Linked DNA regions of Homo sapiens: region 2 is linked to region 1. Evidence: promoter capture Hi-C in 16 types of primary human blood cells and fetal thymus (Javierre and others, 2016). All regions are on one chromosome and are shown on one strand. The core of a region is centred on a gene start or on the middle of the fragment in contact, and the rest is flanking DNA. Distances in the headings are between cores, read along the strand shown.

What was found. The method cuts DNA at HindIII sites, captures the fragments that hold promoters and counts their contacts. A CHiCAGO score of 5 or more calls a contact.
Region 2: a fragment that was not itself captured here is called in contact with the fragment with the promoter of FAM98C in region 1 in 11 of 17 cell types (non-activated CD4 T cells, M0 macrophages, total B cells and 8 more); the score reaches 10.1 in non-activated CD4 T cells.

Annotation. Positions count from the first base shown.
Region 1 is chr19:38,399,227-38,406,483 of GRCh38, forward strand. It overlaps FAM98C (family with sequence similarity 98 member C), which reads left to right and starts at 3,867. Exons shown (of 8, transcript NM_174905.4): 1 at 3,867-3,992; 2 at 4,112-4,260; 3 at 4,334-4,468; 4 at 5,682-5,887; 5 at 6,118-6,195; 6 at 6,293-6,409. The coding sequence starts at 3,928. It overlaps SPRED3 (sprouty related EVH1 domain containing 3), which reads left to right. Exons shown (of 6, transcript NM_001394336.1): 6 at 1-361. RefSeq lists silencers at 933-1,091, 3,654-3,983, 4,174-4,373. The HindIII fragment of the contact is 11,725 bases long and covers 2,815-7,257 here.
Region 2 is chr19:38,931,464-38,938,720 of GRCh38, forward strand. It overlaps MRPS12 (mitochondrial ribosomal protein S12), which reads left to right. Exons shown (of 3, transcript NM_033362.4): 3 at 870-1,705. The coding sequence ends at 1,237. LOC124904713 (a long non-coding RNA gene) reads right to left here. Exons shown (of 2, transcript XR_007067253.1): 2 at 3,360-5,389. Among named protein-coding and RNA genes, the nearest start is that of MRPS12, 4.1 kb to the left of the region's middle. The HindIII fragment of the contact is 303 bases long and covers 2,029-2,331 here.

The DNA of each region.
Region 1 (7,257 bases), core at 2,617-5,116:
GGTCCCCCAGTCCTGCTCCCTGCTGAGACCCACCTCTGATCCATGATTCCCCTTCATTGCCCCCAAATCAGGGGTACATGGAGGGCCGCCCTGGGAGCCAGGCAGACCTCAGACCCTGGAGCCCCCAGGCCCAATTTCCCAGCCGCTTGCCCCTCAGATCGGATGCTTGGCCCCCAGATTTGGGGGAGGCACCCCAACATATATCTTCCTGATCTTGTTTCTAAGCCAGTCTGTGACCTCAATATTGTTAGTGTCAGTGCAGGCTGAAGTGGTGGGGGAGGATGGGGGCCAAAGACCCAGCCTTGTCATCGGGGGAGGGGGCACGAGATCTGCTCCAAGAAATGTCTGTGACAAAGTCTCAGCCTGTGTTATTTATTTGCCTCTGTGCACCCCACCCACTCACCTTCCTGAACTGCTAAACCAGTCTCCTACTTAAATTCTCCCTTCTCCCATCAGACCCTCAAGCTGAGTTTTATAAGACACTCAACAAATGCATTTATTGAGCACCTAATTATGTGCCAAGCCCTGTTGAAAGCACTGGAGATAAAGCAGTGGGCAGAACAGACAAAAGTCCCTCCTGCAAAGAGCTTATGAGCTTTATAGTAGGGGAGACAATAAGTAAATGACTTAATATGTTAGAAATGATAGAAAGCAGAAAGAAAAAAAAAAGTGGGAATGGGGGATACATGCCATTTTAGCTAGAGTGGCCAGGTTAGACCCTCCTCAGGAGTTGGCATTTGTTGTTTTGAGACAGAGTCTGACTCGGTCACCCAAGCTGGAGTGCAGTGGCATGATCTCTGCTCACTGCAGCCTCTGCCTCCTGGGTTCAAGTGATTCTCCTGCCTCAGGCTCCTGAGTAGCTGGGACTGCAGGTGGGTGCCACAACGCCCGGCTAATTTTTGTATTTTTAGTGGAGTCAGGGTTTCACCATTTTGGCCAGGCTGGTCTCGAATTCCTGACCTCAAGTGATCCACCTGCCTTGGTCTCCCAAGTGATTCCAGGTGGAAATCTCCCAAGTGATTACAGGTGTGAGCCACTGTGCCTAGCCAGGAGCTGGCATTTGAACAAAGCCCTGACGGAGGTGAGGGAGTTCTGGGGATGTCTGCAGGGAAGGGTATTTTAAGTAAAGGGAACAGCCAGTGCAAGGCCCTGAGACAGGAGTGTGTCCGGTAAGTCTGAGGAGCTTCAGGGAGCTAGAGTGTTGAGAGGGGAGGAAGCAGAGAAGAGAGCGCTAGGAGATGAGGGCAGAGAGGCGATGGGGCAGATCTGTCAGGCCTTGAAGGGCATTGAATGGACTTAGGTTTTTACCCTGAGTGAGACGGAGCCACAGGAAATTTCAAACATGGGAGGCATGTGACCTGACTCAGTTCACAGGCTCCTTCTGCTGCATGTGGTCAGCAGAGTAGGAGTGGGGTGGGGGACAGCTTCACAGAGAGGAGGCTGCTGTGATGGTTCAGGACAAGACAGCAGCGGACAGGCCCAGGGTGAGGGCCCTGAAGGGTGGAGAAGTGGGCAGGTGTTGGGCCTACTTTGTAAATAGAACCCACAGATTTATGTATGGGATTTGAGATAGAGGAGTCAAGATAGTAAGTCCAGGTTTTTGGCTGGAGCAATTTTTTTTTTTGTTTTAAATTGAGTTCATCACCCAGGCTGGAGTGCAGTGGCATGATCACTGCTCATTGCAGCCTCAAACTCATGAGCCCAAGTGATCCCCCCACCTCAGCATCCCGAGTAGCTGGGATTACAGGTGCACACCACCAAGCCTGGCTAATTTTAAAAATGTTTTTGTAGAGACATGTTCTCACTATGGTGCCTGGTCTGGTCTTAAACTCCTGGGCTCAAGCGATCCTCCCACCTCAGCCTCCTGAAAGGCGGGGATTACAGGTGTGAGCCACTGTGGCCCACCTCTGGGCAATTTTTAACATTTGATTTATGTCAAAAAATAGCCCCCCAAGTGTCCTGCCTTGGGGTAAACAGGGTTATGGGGTTACTCGTATCTGCCCTTAAGGAACAAGTTCTACCCCTGTTCTTCCCTCCAGGCTCCTGGTCCACCCCCAACTTCCAGCAGAATTGTCTAGGAACTACTGGATACCAGGATACAGTAAGGAAGAGATTAGATCTGACACAATGTTTACTTAGCAACAGCAACAAAACAACAGCAGTAGTAACAGTGGAAATAGGTTCCGTGGTTTAAGAGTATAGAGTCTGGAATTTCATCTTCAAGCCTTGGCATCACCATGAATTCACTCTGTGACTTATCTTCTCTCAACCTTAGTTTTCTCTTCTGTAAAAGAGATAAGATACTTCGCCCAATAGTACACATTAAATGCTGTATATATATTAGTTATTCCTTATTAAGTACTCCCTATATATCTGCTAAGCACTTTTTACATATGAAACTCTAATTAATCCTCAGCAACAACTCTAAGAGGTAGGTACTATTATCCCCATTATACAGATGGGAAGCAATTTGGCAGGAACATGGAGCTGGCGAGTAACAGAATCAAGCCCTAACCCTTTGCCTGATTCCTAGGGTGTAATCTCTTAACCACTATGGTGCATTGCACCTGCTCACTCCAAGGCCTAAGAGGGAGAGGAGTGAAGGCCTAACAGGCACATCGTGATCGATGAGGAGGGCCTGGTGTGTGAGGGGTGTGCTGGGATTCCTGGGTCCCTTATGTAATTCAAACCCTGAGGTGGAAAGGAGGGAGGAAGTTTTGGATTTTAGGCAGAGTTGGGTGAACACCACTCCGTCTGGGCTGCTTTAAGAGCAGAGGACAGGGCCAGGAACACTGGCTCAAGCCTGTAATCCCAAGCTTTGGAAGGCTGAGAGGGAAGGATTGCTTGAACACTGGAGTTAGAGGCAAACCTGGGCGACATAGCTAGACCCCTCTCTACAAAACTTTATTTCTTTTTTGACACGGAGTCTTGCTCTGTCCCCAGGCTGGAGTGCAGTGGCGCGATCTTGGCTCACTGCAGTCTGTGTCTCCCGGGCTCAAGCAATTCTCCTGCCTCAGCCTCCCAAATAGTGGTGACTACAGGCGTGTGCCACCACGCCCGGCTAATTTTTGTATTTTTATTAGAGATGAGGTTTCACCATGTGCCCAGGCTGGTCTCGAACTCCTGACCTCAAGTGATCCACCCACCTCAGCCTCCCAAAGTGCTGGGATTACATGCGTGAGCCACCGTGCCCGGCCTCTACAAAACTTTAAAAAAAAAAAAAAATTGGCCGGTTGCAGTGGCTCACGCCTGTAATTCCAGCACTTTGGGAGGCCGAGGCAGGCGGATCGCTTGAACCCAGCAGTTGGAAACCAGGCTGGGCAACATGAGGAAACCTTGTCTCTACAAAAAAATTAAAAACAAATCAGCCAGGCGCGGTGGTCTGCGCCTGTGGTCCCAGCTACTAGGTGTAAGCCACCAAGGCTGACTGATTTTTAAAAATTTAGCTGGGAGGCTGAGGCGGGAGGATCTCTTGAGCCCAGAAGGTCGAGACTGCAGTGAGCCGCGATGGCGCCACTGCAGTCCAGCCTGAACGATAGAGCGAAATCTGCCTCAAAAACAAACCAACAAAACACCAGCAGAAGACAACTGAGGGAGGAAAAGGAAAATGGCACCGAAGTTGTTTTTATGTCGCCGCAACAGTGACACCCGCCGCCAGCTTGTCTTGACAGCGGAGATCCCGAACGCACTGCAATTTACAGCTCCAGGGGGCGTTCCTACAACCCCGACAGGTTAGCCGAGGGGCGGGGCGGGCGGGCCCCGGGGCGGGTTCGGCGTCCTCCTGCGCCAATGGGAGCACCCAAGCCCCTGCGCGGGAAGATGCCGATTGGTCAGTGCCGCCGGACGCTGCGGGGAGCTCGTGCGCGCGGCGCTTTTGGGGCGGAGCCTGCCACCGGCCGCCAGGGGGCGCGCCGAGACCACACTTTCATGGAGGCGGTGAAGGCGGAAGCGTGGGAGGGGGCCGCGGTGGCCCAGGACCTGCTGGCTCTGGGGTAAAAGGGTGTGCGGTGAGGCTGGTGGGTGCAGGAAGGCCAGGTCTGCCCCCTGGACGCGGACGAAAAGGGATTCCCAGTGACATCCCCGCCCCCTCCCGCTGCCTCGGTCCCCACAGGTATGGAGGTGTCCCGGGGGCGGCGTCGCGGGGCGCCTCATGCCCAGACTTCAGGGGGCTGTGCGTGCGGCTGGCGGCGGAGCTGGCGACGCTGGGCGCCCTCGAGCAGCAGCGAGAGGCGGGCGCGGAGGTGCTGAGCGCCGGCGACGGTAAACACGGAGCGGGAGGGTGGCAGGGGGGCCGCCACGGGGCCACCGAGCCCTGACACCCCTGTCCTCGCAGGCCCTGGCGCGGAGGAGGACTTTCTGCGGCAGCTCGGCAGCCTGCTGCGGGAGCTGCACTGCCCGGATCGCGCGCTCTGCGGCGGGGATGGCGCGGCTGCGCTTCGGGAACCCGGTGCCGGACTGCGCCTGCTGCGTGAGTCCCGGGATGCAGAAGTGGCAAGGCCATGGCCTCCGGAGCGGCGGGCTCTGACTTTTTAGGGGAAATCGAGGTTCCCAAGGGGTGTGGTCAGAACTTTGGGGCGGCCCAGAGGGTACGAGGTGGGTGGGGTGAGCATGTTGGGGCAAGCAGAGCGCTCTAAAATGGGCGGGGGTAGAATTTCGTTTTATTTTTTATTTATTTTATTATTATTATTTTTGAGATGGAGTTTCACTCTTGTTACCCAAGCTGGAGTGCAGTGGCGTGATCTCGGCTCACTGCAACCTCCACCTCCCAGGTTCAAGTGATTCTCTTGCCTCAGCCTCCCGAGTAGCTGGGATTACAGGCGCGCGACACCACACTCGGCTATTTTTAGTAGAAACGGGGTTTCACCATGTTAGCCAGGCAGGTCTCGAACTCCTGACCCCAGGTGATCTGTCCACCTCGGCCTCCCAAAGTGTTGGGATTACAGGCGTGAGCCCACCACGCCCGGCCCGGGGTTAGAATTTTAATTGGAGGGCCTAGGAGCTCAAGTGGGTTGGATTAGGAGGAAGGCTTGAGGTTTCAAAGTGGGCAGGAGTGGAATTCGTAGGAGGGGACAGGGTCTCAAGGTGGGGCTTACTCTGGAAGGCTTTAGGTGGGGGGGACTAGAAGGTGGAGGATTTTGTTTTGTTTTGTTTTTAAGTGGAGGTGGGGTCTCCCTATGTTGCCCTGTCTGGTCTTCAACTCCTGGCTTCAAGCGATCCTCCCACCTCAGCCTCCCAAGGTGTTGGGATTACAGGCTACAGGCATGAGCCACTGTGCCTGGGCAAAGGTGGAGGTTTTAAAGCCGGTGGAGCCTCTTTTTTTTTTGAAATGGAGTCTCGCCCTGTTGCCAGGCTGGAGTACAGTGACATGATCTCAGCTCACTGCAACCTCCAACTTCCTGGTTCAAGCGATTTTCCTGCTTCAGCCTCCCGAGTAGCTGGGATTACAAGCACTCACCACTATGTCCTGCTAATTTTTGTATTTTTAGTAGAGACACAGTTTCACCATGTTGGCCAGGCTGGTCTCCATCTCCTGACCTCGTGATCCGCCCGCCTCTGCCTCCCAAAGTGCTGGGATTACAGGTGTGAGCCACCGCACCCGGCCATCAGTGGAGCTTTTTGACCAAGATGGATGAGTGGGTAGCAGCCTCCCTGAGTGCACAGCACCCATTTATTACTTTCAGGCTTTCTCTGCTCAGAGCTCCAAGCCACCCGCCTCCTGTGCCTCCGCTCTCTGCTGGATCCGAGTCCTAGGCCACCCCTTGGTGAAGGGGTAGTGGAGGGAGCCGGCATGGTCCAAGAACTGGACCTTACCCTCCAAGCCCTGGGGCTGCCCAGACCTGCACCAGGGACCCCCGCCAGCCAGCTGCTGCAGGAGTTGCATGCTAAGGTAGAGAGTCAGAGTCCCCTCCCGACCTGGGCTACCCCACTTTCCTTGTGGGGGTGGGGGTCCTCTCTCCACTTCTGGAAGGAGTATTCCAACCACTGGCCTGTTTTTTCTGGAGCTGTGACTGGCATTCTCACATCTGTGGCCTAGGTCCTCAGGGGTGTGGGGAGCTGAGTTTACAGAGGGGCCCATCCTCTCTGCCCCAGTTGGCCTCTGACTTCTTCTCCCATCAGATCTCAGAGCTGCAGCCTTCTCTGCCCCCAGGGTCCCTGCAGCCCCTCCTCAGCTGCTCGCTAGATGCACCCAGATGGGTAAGACTGTGTGCGACTGACTGAATGTGAACTGTGTCCTCATCAGAGGTGGCAGTGAGAGGGACCCCTAGCCTGACCTTGAGACCTTTTCTCCCAGGAAGCGTTGGAGTCTCTGTCCCAAAGCCTCAGAGATCAGTACCGCTGCCGCCGCTGCCTCCTCCTCAAGCGCCTTGACCTCACTACATCTGCTTTCCACTGGAGTGACCGGGCAGAGGTGTGGTGGGCAGGGGACCATGCAGAATTGGAGAGGCCCAGTTGTGGGGGCTGCAGTTGCAGGGAGGAGGAATGAGGGCCAGGAGTATCACCCTCTTGCAGGTTCTCAGGCCATGGACATTTTATAATTTTTTGAGGTTTGGGGCTCCTAGAATCTCAGGGTCCCAGGGTATTGTTGAATTCCCAGCTCTGAGCTGGCAGTATATTCAGAGGCATACCCCATCATTTTTTTTTTTTTTTTGAGACGGGGTCTCACTCTGTTGCCAGGCTGGAGTGTGGTGGTGCGATCTCAGCTCACTGCAACCTCCGACTCCCGGGTTCAAGTGATTCTCCTGCCTCAGCCTCCTGAGTAGCTGGGATTACGGGCACATGCCACCATGCCCAGCTAATTTTTGTATTTTTAGTAGAGACAGGGTTTCACCATGTTGGCTAGGATGGTCTCGATCTCCTGACCTTGTGATCTGCCTGTCTTGGCCTCCCAAAGTGCTAGGATTACAGGCATGAGCCACTGCACCCAGCCTTTTTTTTTTATTTTTTATTTTTTGAGACGGAGTTTTGCTTTTGTTGGCCACGCTGGAGTGCAATGGTGCGATCTTGGCTCACCGCAACCTCCGCCTCCTGGGTTCAAGTGATTTTCTTGCCTCAGCCTCCCGAGTAGCTGGGATTTCAGGCATGCACCACCACGCCGGGCTAATTTTGTATTTTTTAGTACAGACAGGGTTTCTCCATGTTGGTTAGGCTGGTCTCAAACTCCCAACCTCAGGTGATCTGCCTGCCTTGGCCTTCCAAGGTTCTGGGATTGCAGGCATGAGCCACCACGCCTGGCCAAGTGTACCCCATCTTTAAGAG
Region 2 (7,257 bases), core at 930-3,429, 530 kb after region 1:
TGGCAGAGCTAGGGCTGCTAGAGCAAGAGGTGGGAAGCAGCTGCATGGAGGGCTACTGCGTGTCAAGCGGCGTTTGGGTCAGTTTTATTATTTATTTATTTAAGATCTCCCTCTGTCGCCCAGGCTGAAGTGCAGCGGTGTGATCACAGCTCACTGCAGTCTCGACCTCCTGGGCTCAAGTGATCCTCCCGCCTCAGCCTCCCAAGTAGCTGGGACCACAGGCCTGCAGAACCACAACCAGCTAACTTTTTGATTCTTTGTAGAGAGGGAGGTCTCCCTGTGTCGCCCAGTCTGGCCTTAACTCCTGAGCTCAAGTGACCCTCCACAGCCTCCAAAAGTGCTAGGATTACATGCATGAGCCACTGAGCCTACTATTATTTTAAACAGCATTAAAAATAATGCTTCCTGGCCAGCCGTGGTGGCTCACGCCTGTAATCCCAGCACTTTGAGAGGCCGAGGTCAGGAGTTCGAGACCAGCCTGACCAACATGGTGAAACCCCGTCTCTACTTAAAAATACGAAGATTAGCCGAGCGTGGTGGTGGGTGCCTGTAGTCCCAGCTGCTCAGGAGGCTGAGACAGGAGAATTGCTTGAACCCAGGAGGCAGAGGTTGCAGTGGGCCAAGATTGAGGTACTGCACTCCAGCCTGGGCGACAGAGTGAGACTTTGTCTCAAAAAAAAAAAAGAAAAAAAAAAAAAAGGTAATGCTTCCTTGAAGAATAAAGAGTTACTTTTGTCTGTAGATAACATTAGATGTGAACAAATGCATCTTTGTAAAGTGCTTTAAACAATGCCTAAAACACCAAAATTGAGTTGCTACTACTCTAAGATCTGTTCTCTGGGATAATAACCCCTTTCGGCCCTCTCCAGGCCCAGCTCTGGTTCCCCGGCTCTGGGCTACCTGCTCCATGGCTACCCTGAACCAGATGCACCGCCTGGGGCCCCCCAAGCGGCCGCCTCGGAAGCTGGGCCCCACGGAAGGCCGGCCGCAGCTGAAGGGTGTGGTCCTGTGCACGTTTACCCGCAAGCCGAAGAAGCCCAACTCAGCCAATCGCAAGTGCTGTCGAGTGCGGCTCAGCACTGGCCGCGAGGCCGTCTGCTTCATCCCTGGGGAGGGCCACACCCTGCAGGAGCACCAGATTGTCCTTGTGGAGGGCGGCCGCACCCAGGACCTGCCAGGCGTCAAGCTCACCGTTGTGCGTGGCAAGTACGACTGTGGCCACGTGCAGAAGAAGTGACGGCTGGGGGCACAGTGGGCTGGGCGCCCCTGCAGAACATGAACCTTCCGCTCCTGGCTGCCACAGGGTCCTCCGATGCTGGCCTTTGCGCCTCTAGAGGCAGCCACTCATGGATTCAAGTCCTGGCTCCGCCTCTTCCATCAGGACCACTATTAAGCCATAGGAGTCCTGGGGGTGCAAAGGGTGCCCCTCTGTCAACACCCTTGGCTCCTGTGTTTAGAGGGGTGGCCTGAAGGACCTTTTCTGCTGGGACAAGACACTGTACTGCCCTCTGCTGGGAAGGGGTTTTAATAAACAGACCCTGGCGCTTGTGATGTAAATCCCCTTGTGGAGTATTTGCCCTCTGTGTGGCTGTGGCAGTGGACATCTCTGAGCTTCAGTTTCCTCCAGAAAATAGCTCCATTGGTGGTATCTCCTTTGTTTGGTTTGGTGAAGATTAAATTCGATGCTCTATGTGCATAACACGCACGGAGGGCTCTTTTTTTTTTTTTTAGACAAAGTCTCACTCTGTTGCCCAGGCTGGAGTGCAGTGGCCTGATCTCAGCTCACTGCAACCTCTGCCCCCCGGGTTCATATGATTCTCCTGCCTCAGCCTCCCGAGTAGCTGGGATTGTAGGCACACACCACCAGGCCTGGCTAATTTTTGTATTTTTAGTAGAGACAGCGTTTCACCATGTTGGCCAGGCTGGTCTCAAACTCCTGAGCTCGGGTGATCTGCCCACCTTGGCCTCCCAAAGTGCTGGGATTACAGGCGTGAGCCACCACGCCTGGCAGAGGGCTACTGTATTTTAAGCTTAGGAGTCAGGTAGGTGGCACAGAGGCCCAGGTCTTCTTCCTGCAGGCCATGGGTTCTGGGCACATAAACTCTGCCCTCAAGCATGGACAGCTGGAAAATGGCAGTAATTGTAATGTTGATGTGGAAGGGGTGTGGAAAGGATTCAATGGGGTGTGCTGCTCCACACCCGGGAGCTGTTCTTTTATTTTATACGTGTGTGTGTGTGTGTGTGTGTGTGTGTGTGTTTGTGTGTGTTTGTGTAGAGAGAGAGACAGAGTCTCACTGTGTTGTCCAGGCTGGAGTGCGGTTCTATGATCAAAGCTTACTTCAGCCTTGACCTCCTGAGCTCAATAGATCCTCCCGCCTCAGCCTCCTGAGTAGTCAGGACCACAGGTGTGTGCCACCACACCTGGCTAACTTTTCCATTTTTTTAGAGTGGGAATCTGGCTTTGTTGTCCAGGCTGGTCTCGAACTCTTGGCCTCAAGAGATCCTTCCACCTTGGCCTCCTAAAATGCTGGATTATAGGTGTGAGCCACTATTATATTATATAATAATATAAAATTATTACTGGGTTCACCTGAGCTCAAATTCTGCTCCCCGTCATAATTGCTATGAGACCTGGCTATGTTGGTTCCCCCTATGGGCCTCGGTTTCCTCCCTTGGAAAATGGCACTGATGATAATGCTGACTGCACCTGATCATGTTTTTGGCCATGTAAGATTTAAGAAGTGGGGCCAGGTGCAGTGGCTCATGCCTGTAATCTCAACACTTTGGGAGGCCGAGGTGGGCCGACCACTTGAGGTCAGGAGTTTGAGACCAGCCTGGCCAACATGGTGAAACCCTGTCTCTACTAAAAATACAAAAATTACCCGGGCATGGTGGCATGTGCCTATAATCTCAGCTACTCAGGAGGCTGAGGCAGGAGACTTGCTTGAACCTGGGAGGTGGAGGTTGCAGTGAGCTGAGATCAGCACCACTGCACTGCAGCCTGGGTGACAGAGTGAGACTCTGTCTCAAAAAAAGAAAAAAGAAAAAACAATGTTGGAACTGTGTTTATATCATTGGGCTCTGGAGCCCAGCACTGCTCCAAGCCCTGCCTCCCCTACTTACTGGCTGGGTGACCTTGGGCAGGTTGTTTACACTCTGAGCCTGGACCAAATGGCGCTGATAAGGGTGCATGCTTGAGAGCTGTTTGGAGCATCATAGCTGTCTCCGAGTTCCTCTTGACGCTCAACACACAGCCTCCTGAGGGTCTCCTGATTGTAAACATGAGGCCACAAGGTCTTTTAGGATCAGAGCTGGTGGCAGATAAGTGCACTGATTACAGATAAAAATTGCCCATCCCCTCATATTTGGCACCAGTTTTATTGAGCTAGTTTGTTGGCCATGCCTAGCTGAGAAATAGAGAAGTGGAGGGAGATGGGGGGATGGGAGAGCTTTTCCTCATGGCACACTCTGCTCCAGGAGTCTGTATACAGGAGTGTGGAGAAAAGGAAGTGTTACCTTGCAGGAAGTTGCCCCCAAAGCAAGGGCAGGAGGTGGGGGTGGGGGACTTGGCCTCTGATGGAATTCTGGAATTCTGATGAGAGAGGTGCTAGCCTGACCTGAACAGGAGATGCTGACAGGCAGTGCTGGGCATGTTGCACAGAGATGGCTGGTTACACAGCCCCGTGGCAGGATCCCAGAGTGCCGAGACCAGCTGGGTCGTGGAGACCCTAACCCAGTGGCGCTAGAGGAATTAAAGACACACACCCAGAAATACAGGGTGTGGAGTGGGAAATCAGGGGTCTCACAGCCTTCAGAGCTGAGAGCCTCGAACAGAGATTTACACACATATTTATTGACAGCAAGCCAGTGATAAGCATTATTTCTATAGATTATAGATTAACTAAAAGCATTTCTTATGGGAAATAAAGGGATGTGCCAAAATAAACGGATGGGCTCTGGCTAGTTATCTGCAGCAGGAACATGTCCTTAAGGCACAGATCGCTCATGCTATTGTTTGTGGTACAGGAACCCCTTTAAGCCGTTTTCCATCCTGGGTGAGCCAGGTGTTCCTTGCCCTCATTCCAGTAAACCCACGACCTTCAGGGTGGGGGTCATGGCCATCATGAACATGTCACAGTGCTGCAGAGATTTTGTTTATGGCCAGTTTTGGGGCCAGTTTATGGCCAGATTCAGGGGCCTGTTCCCAACATGTCCCCTTTTTTGTTTTGCAAAGTGATAAAAGCAAAGGCAGCTTTGTCACGGTGAGCTACTTCTCACAGGAGTCAGGATCCGCATCTGCACACTATACAAAGACAAACAACACAGAGTAAAAGCACAATCATCATTGAAATCACAGAGCCTCCAAGTGTTTTTATCCATTTGAATGGGTTACTAGCTGCTAATCTGTCTGCAGCTCCTTCAAGCACTCCAGTTCCTGGCATTAAGTTCACGTGTGCCTGGGATACTTTAAATATTTGTTCTTTCAATTTTGCAATATCCAAATACAAGTTTGTAGAGTGGCCTTCTAGATGCTTTTTTATTCTTTCCCAAATTTTGATTTTATTAAGAGCTATTAACAGTTTCCACAAATGCTTATGTTTAGCTCCTAGAGCAGGCCATATCATTTGAGGCTGAGGTGCCACTATACTGCCATGGTTCCAGATAATAGGAACTCTTGCTGTATTTCTTACCATTTCTATCATCTGACCATTTTGTTCAGATGAGCTGATCACAGTGTGGCCATGGCATGCAGACTGAGAGGTGCAGTTCAAGCTAAACATCCCCATAGGTGACCAATTAATAATGATTCCATAGGAATTGTTGTGCAGCACCTCTGCCTGTTCTGCAAAGCAATCTTCCTAAACAAGTACGTTCATTTTTGCTAACTGGGTCCAATCCTGTTTACAAATATGTTTTTGAGGGCAGTATGCCTCAATTATAGGAGCAGATTTATTATGAGATCAGAAAGCTTGTATAACTGTGTCATAGAGTGATTACATCCAGGCATTATTGCCAGCCAAGATTGATAAATATGCCCAATAAGTATAATTGTCCTCTGTGTCAGCCCTTATTGAAGGAATACTCATGGCAGTGGTGATCATCGCTATCATAGCTACCATTAAATTACTCATTGCGACTGGTTGTCCCACTTTCCTCAGGTTTTCTTCCACCATCTGTGACAGCTTCTTGATCTGTCTCCAGGTGGGTGGCTGTGTTTGACAGGTGTTGCTCGTGACAGTTGGGGTCTTCCTCAGCGTCAGTCTCGACATGGCTGCAACCGGGGGTGGGGGGGGTCCTCAGTTTCCTCCCGGAATCTCTTCCTCAGCATCTGGCTCATGATAAGGTTTCAGGTGTCTTGATGGTATCCAAATCGGCTGTTGAGTCAGTCCTGGAGAAACACAAGCATAACCTCTACCCCAAGTTATTATTTTACCTATTTCCTAACTTTTTGTTATTGGATCTCTCCACCAAACTAGTTGTTCTGCTTCTGTCTTTGCAGCTGGTTTCTGTAGATGCTGTTCAGCTACTGATAGGATCTGGCCTTTAGGCAGGCTCAAAAAATTTAAAGTTAACAATGCTAGATTCAGTTGCATATGGGGTGTCCCGTAGTCCTTGTTTTCCCCCCTTTTTTTTGCTTTTGCAACTGCTGTTTCAGGGAGAGATTCATTCTTTCCACTATGGCTTGTCCTTGAGAATTATATGGGATACCAGTAATGTGTTTAATATTCCGTATAGAGAAAAATGTAGCTAGAGCTCGGCTAGTGTAGCCTGGGGCTTTATCTGTTTTAATAGAAGCTGGAATGCCCATCACTGCAAAACACTGCAAAAGGTGACGCCTGGAAGAGGTGTATGAGCCCTAATGTGAGTGATGTAAAAAGGGTGCATTCTACTCCTAACTGCTGTTTGCAGTTGGGTAAATAAAATCATCAGTTGTTCATCTGCAGGAAATTGTAACTGAGCATTTTCAGTTAATTGTGTGGAATGAATCACGTATGAAGAGTCAGAAATCACATTAATAGGCATATGAAAAGCAGTCACTACCTCAATTACAGCTACAGGCTCCACTTTTTGAGCTGAAGTATAGGGCATCTGAAAAACTTTACTTTTTGAGCCAGAATAAGAAGCTTTACCATTACTAGACCCATCTGTAAAAACATTTTCAGCACCTTCAATTGGTTTAAATTTAGTTATTTTAGGGAGAATCCAATTAGTTAATTTCAAAAATTAAAACAGTTTTGTTTAGGAAAATGGTTATCGAGAATACCCACAAAGTCAGCTTAATTGGTTTGCCAAGTAAGACTATTTATAAAAGCTTGCTGTATTTGTGCCTTTGTGAGAGGGATAATAATTTTTCCAGGATCATATCCATGTAATTTAACAATCCGAGTTCTCCCATTTCCTATCATAGTAGCAATTTGATCCAAATAAGGAGTTAGAGTCCGTGAATTAGTATGTGGAAGAAAAAGCCACTCTACAAGATCTCACTCTTGAACAATAACACCAGTAGGTGAATGCTGAGTTGGAAAAATTAGCAAATCTAGAGTCTTCTCTGGATCTAATCTATTTATTTGAGCTTTATGGACTTGCTTTTCGATTAGCCGCAGCTCTGCCTCAGCTTCTCTTGTTAATTACCGAGGGCTTGTGAGACCAGGATCTCCTCTAAGGATAGAAAATAGATTACTCATGGCATAGGTAGGAATGCCTAGAGCAGGTCGTATCCAATTAATGTCCCCTAGTAATTTTTGAAAGTCCTTTAATGTTTTCAATTGATTCCTATGTATGGTTGCTTTCTGTGGCACAATGGTAGTGTCATTTACTAAGGTCCCCAAGTAGGAGTAAGGAGTAGTAGTCTGAATTTTGTCAGGAGCTATAATTAAACCAGCGCAAGAAATCGAATTTTGTAAGTGATCATAACATTGGAGTAATACTTCTCGAGTGGGGGCAGCACAAAGTATATCATCCATATAATGAATAATGTAACACTGTGAAAACTTTTAACGAGTAGGTTCAATTGCTTGCCCTACATAAGTCTGGCAAATTGTTGGGCTGTTTAACATGCCTTGTGGCAATACTTTCCAGTGAAAACGCTTAGCAGGCTGCAGGTTGTTTACTGCAGGAATTGTAAATGCAAACTGTTCACAGTCTTGCTCAGCTAAGGGGATAGTAAAGAAACAGTCTTTTAAATCTATGACTATTAAAGGCCAATTTTTTGGAATCATAGCAGGAGAAGGCAATCCTGGCTGTAATGTACCCATG